2 separate regions of the Homo sapiens genome follow, and region 1 is linked to region 2. Evidence: promoter capture Hi-C in 16 types of primary human blood cells and fetal thymus (Javierre and others, 2016). All regions are on one chromosome and are shown on one strand. The core of a region is centred on a gene start or on the middle of the fragment in contact, and the rest is flanking DNA. Distances in the headings are between cores, read along the strand shown.

Region 1 (4,643 bases), core at 1,099-3,598, 180 kb before region 2:
TTTCTCACAGTTTATCAGCCCTCTTATTTCACATTGTAACAGGATGCTGTATACTTAACCTGACGTTAGATTTTGAAGAAGGCAGTATATATGCATATGTACAGAAGGGCAGTGTAAAGCAGTGAGTTAGACTGCCTGGGTTCGTAATCCAGTTCTACTACTTATTTCAGTGTGGGACTTAGGATAGGTTACTTAACATTGTTAAACTTCAGATGTTATTACAAGAATAATATATCTAAAGCGCTTAACATAATATTTGGCACATAATAAACACAAAATAAATCTTAGTTAATGTCATTCATAAGATTCTCAAAAAAGTCTCTGACCTATAACTGAAAATGTACAACTTGCCACATAATTTTTTCTTTCACTCTGTTCTCGCCTTTTTATACTCTTTTAACACTTACGTGAATGGGAATAAAACACTGTGCCACTTTATTGTGATGTTTCAATTTAAGTTGAAGTAAGCCCTTGAGTAACTGGTAGAATGCAGACTTTGGTAATATAAACTAATTAGAAATTCTCTGGAACAGGTGACTGACAGGCCCTGGTACAATAGTATACTACTTTTGGCCAAGTTTTATTCATCCTTAAATCTTTTTTCAGAGGGAAATAACGGAATATTTGCGTTACACGATATCATTACTGTTTATAGCATCAGAATTTGGGGGTGCAGAGACAGAAATCTGTCTGTAACTAGATTACAGACAGTCTAACCTCAAACTAGGTTAGACAAAATGAAGAATTTCATGTAAGTCTCATGGAATTTCATTAAAGGAGGGATATATCTGCTCCCAGGGACTCAAGTGCCACCAGAATTTATTTTCTCTATTTCTGCTTTTCTACATGGTTTACCTCTTTTTGTTTTTGAGACAGGGTCTCACTTTGTCACTCAGGCTGGAGTGCAGCAGTGCGATCTTGGCTCACTGCAGCCTCAGCCTCCCTGGATGAAGCCATCCTCCTGCCTCAGCCCCCCTAGTAGCTGGGACTACGGGCATGCGCTGCCACACCCAGCTAATTCTTTTTGTATTTTTTACATGGACGGTGTTTCGCCATGTTGCCCAGGCTGGTCTCGAACTCCTGAGCTCAAGTGATCTGCCTACCTTGGCCTCCCAAAGTGCTAAGATTACAGGCGTGAGCCGTGTCCCACCTGACTTGTCTTTTCAGACCAACTTTCTTCATATTATGCTGTCAGTTTGTAGGTCTCCCACATTTACTACTTGAGATAGTCTATGCTTCTTTCTTAAGTTGCTGTTGATAAAACTCCAGAAACAAAGTATGGACAAGCTTGGGTCATGTGTCCACTCCAAATCTACGGCCAGGGAATACAGTTATTCCAATTATGTCAGCTACTATGGTCAAGGAGGTGAACTTTCAAGAAAAATAAGTGCTTGGAATGGAAGAAAGAACATTTCATGTGAGAAGACAAGTACAGAAGTAGAGAGTAGGAGAGGCTTGGAGGGGAAATAATAAATAATCCTTACATGATGCTTGTTTATGCTTGCTAAATCTTTACTTCAGTTAGCACAAAGCAGGAACACAAATACATGCTATTGCAATTTGAAACAGGATTCCTCAGCAAAATTGATTCTGATTTTTATTATAGTTGTAGCCCGGAGTTTGCTGCAAGATTTTCACTTTTACCTTAGATTAAATAAGAGACTTTTTATACTGTCGTGCTTCAACTTGTATTTTTGGTGGTGATGATTTTTTCTTTGTTGCTTACTAAGCTGATATTACTCACTTGATATTGGGTGACAGCTTGAGTTACAAGTTTAATACTAGTAAGTAAGCATTTTCTTTTCCTTTTTTTTTTTTTTTTAATATTCTTGAGACAGGGTCTCACTCTGTTGCCCAGGCTGGAGTGCAGTGACACAATCTCAGCTCACTGCAGCCCCTGCCTCCTGGGTTCAAGCAGTTCTCCTGCCTCAGCCTCCTGAGTAGCTGGGATTACATGCCCACACCACCATGCCTGGCTAACTTTTGTATTTTTAGTAGAGTTGGGGTTCCACCATGTTGGCCAGGCCGGTCTTGAACTCCTGATCTCAAGTGATCTGTCCCCCTCAGTCTCCCAAAGTACTGGGATTACAGGTGTGAGCCACTGCACCCAGCATAAGTAAGCATTTTCTTGATTGAATAAGTAAGGGTATTTTTTTTCCATGTGATAAAGCCCATCTAAAAATAACGTTGTGTAAAAATAAACTATTAGAAGGTATATGAAAGTGTAGTTGGGTACAAGGAATATATGGAACCAGGGATTCAGCATCACCAGGACCTCCATCTCTCCTAATCCCTGGTTGAATCCTGTTGCATCTCTTCAATTTTTTCTTTTCCACAACCACTAATTTAATTTAGGTTCTGATCATAATACAGGTGAATGTGTAGTGAATGATAGCAGTGGATTCCCACATGGCAAGCAAACTAAATCTTCCCCTGCCTAAGTTCACGTTGAGTGTTTTGTTGTGTGTGTAATTTCCCCTAAATACTTCCAGAGTGTCAGTAACTATTCAGTACGCTCAAATTGAGTCAGGAGTATAACAGAAGCCTTTAAAAATTACGTAAAACTAGAGAAAGTAGGTAAAAATAGTAATCCTGACTTTCATTAATCTATAACTGATCTTTCAGTAATGTATGGCCTTCTGAAATGATACTTTGTTTTTAGTTACTGTAAATGGTATGTCTGCTCTAATCAGGGTGACTGGCTTATTCATTTTTGTTTCTGTACCATACATTTGTCATTTGCTCTGACTTGAATGACTTTTCTCCATCTGTGCCAGTTCTATTACGATTGTAATTCAAGCATTTCCCCTCTAAATGCACTGTGATCAGGCTACTTTTGACTCTCTCTGTTCTCTGCTTAGTCAATATTGGAGGTGTTGGAGAATTTTTCTTTGAGAAATGAATTTTTTTCTTTTTCCTTTTTTTTTTTTCTTGAGACAGAGTCTCAACTCTGTCACCCAGGCTGGAGTGCAGTGGCATGATCTCAGCTCACTGCAACCTCTGCTTCCTGCGTTCAAGCAATTCTCCTGCCTCAGCCTCCTCAGTAGCTGGGACTACAGGTGTGCACCACCATGCCTGGCTAATTGTTTTGTAATTTTAGTGGAGATGGGGTTTTGCCTTGTTGGCCAGGCTGGTCTCGAACTCCTGACCTCAAGTGTTCTGCCAGCCTCAGCCTCCCAAAGTGCTGGGATTACAGGCGTGAGCCACTGCGCTTGGCCTGAGAAATGAATTTTTACAAAGTGAGTCACACTTCTTATCTGTATATCCAGGAGGGAAAAACCTTAATCTATGATTGTCAGACATTCTACATTCTTGATAATGGTTAAAAAAGAAAAATTCTTTTTCCATGTAGTTAGTATGTCACCTATCCTTTTGACAAATATTTGAGCTGGATATCATATGTCATACGATAAGCTTTATTAAAGTTAATGTTCAAGCTTTATTACCTCCCATTGGAAAGGGTGATTTGCAGGTATCTTATCCCAGACCTGTGAGATCAGTGGTTTTCAAGGTAGTCTCATACCAGCAGCATTAGCATCACCTGAGTTTTTTTTTTTTTTTTTTTTTTTTTTTTAATTGCAGGTACTCGGGCCTCACTGGAGACTTACTAGGTCAGAAAGTTGGGTGAGGCTCAGCAGCCCATTTTAGTAAGCCCTCAAGGTAATTCTGATACCCTTAATAAGACAGACCAATCGTAGAGAGCCTGAGGGCATTTGTTTGGTTGCTAATACACCTTTTTTTGGAGTGAACGAAGTACCATGATCTTGTCAGAAGATGAGTTCAAAATAGAGCATGGCTATGTAATTAGCTGTGTGGTTTCAAAGGATTAGTTATAACACAGTTATAAAAATTAAAGGTAGTGGTTAACAGGATAGTTTTGAGGATCAAATAAATAATGAAACAAGCTTTTCATGAACTCTTAAGGCCTATGTAAATTTCAGTTGCAAACTGTTAACGCTTATGTTTTTTTCCTTTTGGGGCCCTTATTCATACTAGTGACTTCAGTGGCTTTTATTCACAATAGTGATCAGTTGCTAAACTTGCTTCTGATTTTGGGGTGCAGGATATGAGCTTAAGAAACGTTACATGACCTGAGATTAGGAGGTCTGGGTATTATAATAAAGTATCAGTGCCTGACGTTTCTCTGCCTGGTTTCCTTATTTGCAAATAAAGGTAGCAAGCACTCCATTTGGTACTTCTAAAGATCTAATGAAATTGTGTGTGTTGACACTGCTTTCATGGTTGCAAGAGAAAAAGACAGTGAAATCAAAGCATCTATCATAAATGCCTGACACATAGAAGATACTTTATGACAGCTATTTGTTATTCTTGTATATAAAACTAGCTTTAGGCTGGGCACGGTGGCTCATGTTTCCAATCCTACATTTTGGGAAGCCAAGGTGGGCAGATCGCTTGCATCCAGGTGTTTGAGACCAGCCTGGGCAACATGGTGAAACCCTTCTCTATGAAAAATACAAAAATTAGCCAGGCATGGTGGTGCACATGTATAGTCCCAGATACTTGGGAGGCTGAGGTGGGAGGATCATTTGAAGGTTGAGGCTGCAGTGAGCAGTGATCATGCCACTGCACTCCAGCCTGGGTGACAGAGCAAGATCCTGTCTCAAAAAATAAATCTAGCCTTT
Region 2 (5,131 bases), core at 1,358-3,857:
ACAAAAAAAAATTAGCTGGTCATGGTGGCGCACGCCTGTAATCCCAGCTACTTTGGAGGTTGAGGCAGGAGAATAACCTGAACCCAGGTGGCGGAGGTTGCAGTGAGGTGTGATCGTGCCACTGCACTCCAGCCTGGGTGACGAGCGAGTCTCCATTTCAAAAAAAAAAAAGAGGTTTACTCTTTGACAGATCTCTTCCTTACTGGGTTGAAAGCTCATTTGAAGCAAGAATTGACTTATCCACCTCCGACTCTCAGCCTCAGGCAAAGCGTTTTACATCTAACGGGGATTTGAAAATTACAATTTAATTTGGAGATGTCTCTGAATATAAATTTTTAGGAAGAGTAATCCTAGTTTATCTGTAATAAATGATGTTACTTCATAATGATTTACTGGAAGATGAAATAAAAAGTTGAGTGTATTATTATAAAATGGGGTTATTGCCAATCTAAACTTGGTAAAATTGTTTTGAAAGGAAACTTGGATTTATGTTCTTAATTTCTAGCACAGTAGTGACAGTTTTTTGTTGTTGTTTGTTCGTTTGTTTTTAAAGAACACAATGAAATAGAGGCCATGCCAATTGGGGCAGAATGAATTCCCAATTACTCTCACAGTGAATCATCTACAGGCCTCACTGCAAAAACTTGCTCTCAACAAAAATTGTAGGTCAATATTATTAGCATATCAGAGACTAAGTCATATCTAAAATAAAAATGTCTTAAATATTTTAAGAGAACAATTTTATTTTAACAGCACCTTTGGGACTAAAAACAAACAAACAAAAAATAACAAAACCCAGTGTCGTCAATATAATAGGCTCAGCTGAGAAGAGTTCTTCAGCAAGTTCTAAACAACTCAGGAAAACTAAGAATCTCTAAAGTTACAAACTAAAGGCCTGAGAAATTATCTAGAAAATGCAGGCTTAAATTAAAATTCACTTCCATTATGTGGCTTTATCAGTTCAAATGCTTACTCCTTGAGGACGAGGCCACTTCTTACACTCTTATCTGACACAGTCCACTACTGAGACCACAGTAGGGACTCACTTCATCTGTTAAATGATTAATGTTTACTCAATAATTAGATAACTGGCTGAGTTATCTCCATCTCACATTCCAAGGATAGACTTAGGGGAATCTTTTTTCTTTAAATCTAAAATGTTGATAAATGGCCCATATTATAGGCTGAATTATGTTGCCCCTAAATTCGTATGTTGAAGTCCTAGGCCCCAGGATCTCAGACTGTGATTGTATTTGGACATACAGCATTTAAAGAGTAAAGTTAAAATGGGGTTGTTAGGGTAGGCCTCTGGCCAGTATGACTGGTGTCATATAAGAAGAGGAGATTGGGACACCGAGGATACACAGAGGAAAGTCGTTGTGAAGATTCAGTGAGAAGGCAGCCACCACCCCAAGCCAAGGAGCGAGGCCTCTGAAGAAAACAACCCTGCCCACCTCTCCATTTCCAACTTTTAGTGTCTAGAACTGTAAGAAAACAAATTTCTGTTGTTTAGCCACTCTGTCTATGATGTTTTGTCATGACAGTCCCAGCAAGCTAGTACAGCCCAGGCACTGAGAACTAATTTAAAAACCCGACCTATGTGCTTAGTTCCGCATTATGCATTTTCTTGTCCCTTATTTATTTATTTTTATTTTTGAGACGGTCTCACTGATTCTGTCACCCAGGCTGGAGTGCAGTGGCTGCGATCTCAGCTCACTACAACCTCCGCCTCCCAGGTTCAAGCGATTCTCCTGCCTCAGCCTCCCCAGTAGGTGGGACTACAGGCGCCCACCACCATGCCCGGCTAATTTTTGTATTTTTAGTAGAGACGGGGTTTCGCCACTGTGGCCAGGCTGGTCTCTAACTCCTGACCTCAAGTGATCCGCCCGCCTTGGCCTCCCAAAGTGCTGGGATTACAGGCGTAAGCCAACGCGCCGGCCTGGAAGGGAAGTTTCTAAGAAAAACTACTAAGGAATTTTAAAACTATGATGTACGTGGATTGTGGAGTATTATTGTGGGCGACTAATCAGATAATGATTGCAAGAATTGATTAGCCAGCTCGAAATCGCAGCACAATTACCGCAGGGGCGATCAGCTTCCACCATCCATTCCAGGATGTTGGGAGTCGTCAATTTGGAAATGTATCAATTAAGCGGCCCCCAGAGCCTCTCGCATCTCTTGCCCGGCCCCGAGTCACCTTCCCCCAGGTGCCTCCATCTCGCTGGAAACATAGGAAGCCCGACTCAAACGCTCTATGCCTATGGTCGTTTCATGGGAAAGCAAAATTAAGGGCAACATTGAGGAAGCTCATTAATATTTAGTTTAGAAGATGCAAAGGGTTCTTCCGCGAACCTGGAAGAGCCCCCCGGGCTCGCCTCTCGCCGCGGTCCCACACTTGCCTGACCTCAACCACACTCTCCCGGTCCAGGCCCCGCTGGAGAACGTCCCACCGACTCCGGGGACAGAAAGGCCGTTTATGTAAAACGACGTTTTTCCTATTTCGCCTCCCACCCTCATGCAAATTTTGATTTTCAACTCTTCCAACCCTTCCGCACCCTGAAACAAACCTCATCTCCTTTCCTCCCTCTTCTGGCTCCGCGGGTTACTCGCCCCGCCCCCACCCTTCAGTCCCTTAGCAACGCGTCCTCGGTCCGTAGAAACCGGTTGCCGAGCTCTGCCTACCTCTGAAAGGCCTAGAGAGCAGAGTTCTCTTCTCAGAGGGGCTTCGCCCACAGACTTTTGTCACTAAAAGCCCAGGTGACTCCCCAGATGCTTACGGATATTAAAACCGATTATGCTGAAGGAGTGGAAGGAGAGTCAAGTAAAAGAAGAAGATCAAGTAAAAAGAACTGGGGAACAGTGACTTTGTTTCCCCTTATTGTACCTCCTTTCTCCTTTTGTGCTTTCCTGGAAACATCGAATTTCAAAAAGAAGCTTACAAAGTCCACCATACAGCTTGCAGGTCTGAATGGAAGTCAACAGTTTATATTTGAATATTTGATGGAAGATTGCTTTCATGGCTTATGATATTAAAAACAGCAACAACAAAAAACCATTCTTATTTCCAAGGCCAAGAAACCTCCCGTGTGGTTAGTAAAATCACCACTGTATTACGCAAGTTGTGTAGCAGACTTGGCTGCACACACACATACCACTTAGCATTTTTATGAGACATAATGGAGATACACTGACATACATTCTGCTGTATTTACTGTATCCTAAGGAACCATTTGTCCTTATTGCTCACTTGTGTGAGCAGAAAATGCACTAAGGCCATGGGAATCATTTATTTTTAGAGCCATAATCTAAAAATGACTGACTTGAAAACAGCTTGTATTTAATTTAAAATGATGGGGAATTTCACAATATTGGTTACATTTTAAGTCAGGGGTTGTTCATCATTCCAAGAATGTACCTTATCTGATGCATCAAAATAGGGGGAAAAGCTTTAAAAAACAGCACTTCAACATCTGTGAGAAGAAAAGGAAAAAAAGCACCAGAATTAATCATCACAAGTCTGTGCTAGTGGCAATGGCAAAACTGCAAAAAAAAAAAAAAAAAAAAAGTATAGTTATGTAGCAATCCAAATTTGGCTAGAAATTGATATTAATAGTCAATGCATGAAAACACTGGAATCAATTTATTTCAAATATTTAAAAAACAAAAATACAATCATTAAAAGTAGAAGGTAGTTTGATTCTTTTCTGTTGCCCAGACTGGAGCACAGTGGTGTGATCATAGCCCACTGCAGCCTCAATCGCCTGTGCTCAAGTGGTTCTCCCACCTCAGCCTCCCTAGTAGCTAGGACTACAGGTGCATGCCACTATGCCAGGCTAATTTTTTTATTTTTATTTTTTTGTAAGGACAGGGGTCTCACTATGTTGCCCAGGCTAGTCTTGAACTTCTGGTCTCAAGTGATCCTCTTGCCTTGTTCTCCCAAAGTGCTGGGATTACAGATGTGAGTAGCCACTGCGACTGGCCAAGGTAGCTTGATTCTATTATATTTTTTAAGCCATATACATTCAGGAACAATGGTTTGTATGGAATTGATAACTGGAATCTAGTTGATAGTGGTGATTTGTCTAAGATTGTTGTAATACCTTCAGCTCAAAAATTTGTACAGAGGTGAAAATTAGCTTCTTAAGAATTCAGTTCAGAAACGTTAGCTACTCATTAATCTTCAGTCAATAAAATTTGTAAAGCATGAATCTTATGAAATTCTTAGAATATTATCATTATCTCAGTTAATATTTATGGAACACGTTCTGCATGTCAGGTACTAGGCTACAACTTTAAAATAGTTCTAATTTCATCCTTTACTTTTCATTCTTAAACCTTAATTCGTATCTATGGAAAGGGTATTATCTTTGATTTTAGAAAAGACCTGACTGAAATTCAAAGAAACTATGTGATTTGCCCAGCATCTTATAATTAGTAATACAATTATTAATATAACACAAAGTACAAAGTATTTTCTCTTTAATAACAAATGTTTGGTAAATGTACACAAAAAAGAATTCAAGTGGATTTTTTCCTAACTACTTTAATTGCTCTCAGTTAAATTCAGTATTTACTGAATGAGTTCATGAACCTATTATAGATAAATACTGGGTAAAGGAGCCTAATGAATGTTTTATTTTAAAAGTATACAGATTTCTTAAAATATAAACTGTATACTATAAGAAAACAAAGAAAATAAAATCTGCAGACTTTTTCCTGCTTCCTTTGAAGTAGGCCAACTACAAAGTTAGAAAGCACATTCCCCAAAACTGCCCTTACTTCTGACACCAAGTTCAGGGGGCCGTCAAAACCCTGAATAGAACCCTCAGGTTCGATAATTTGCTAGAAAGACTCACAGACCTTACTGAAAGCTATTGTATTTAGGGTTATAGTTTATTACAGGGAAAGGTTACAGATTACAACTAGCCAAGGAAAGAAGTTCACAGGGCAGAGTCAGTCCCGAAATAACAAATGTGGAGCTTTTATTGTCCTCTTCCTGTGGAGTCAGGACAGGTTACTCCCTAGCATTGTTGAATGACAATGCACACATGGAGATCTGCCACCCGGGGAAGCTCACCCAATCATTGTGTTCAGAGTTTGTAGTGGGGCTTCATCACACAGGCATAATCGG

What was found. Contacts are between HindIII fragments. The CHiCAGO score rates a contact against its expected background, and 5 or more counts as called.
Region 1: a contact is called between a fragment that was not itself captured here and the fragment with the promoter of C1orf141 in region 2, in 1 of 17 cell types (naive CD4 T cells). The highest score is 5.6, in naive CD4 T cells.

Annotation. Positions count from the first base shown.
Region 1 is chr1:66,951,791-66,956,433 of GRCh38, forward strand. The region is part of intron 4 of MIER1 (MIER1 transcriptional regulator); the gene reads left to right. Among named protein-coding and RNA genes, the nearest start is that of MIER1, 29 kb to the left of the region's middle. The HindIII fragment of the contact is 2,127 bases long and covers 1,286-3,412 here.
Region 2 is chr1:67,132,363-67,137,493 of GRCh38, forward strand. C1orf141 (chromosome 1 open reading frame 141) reads right to left here and starts at 2,608. Exons shown (of 8, transcript NM_001276351.2): 1 at 2,568-2,608. RefSeq lists an enhancer at 4,841-5,131. The HindIII fragment of the contact is 7,094 bases long and covers 1-2,932 here.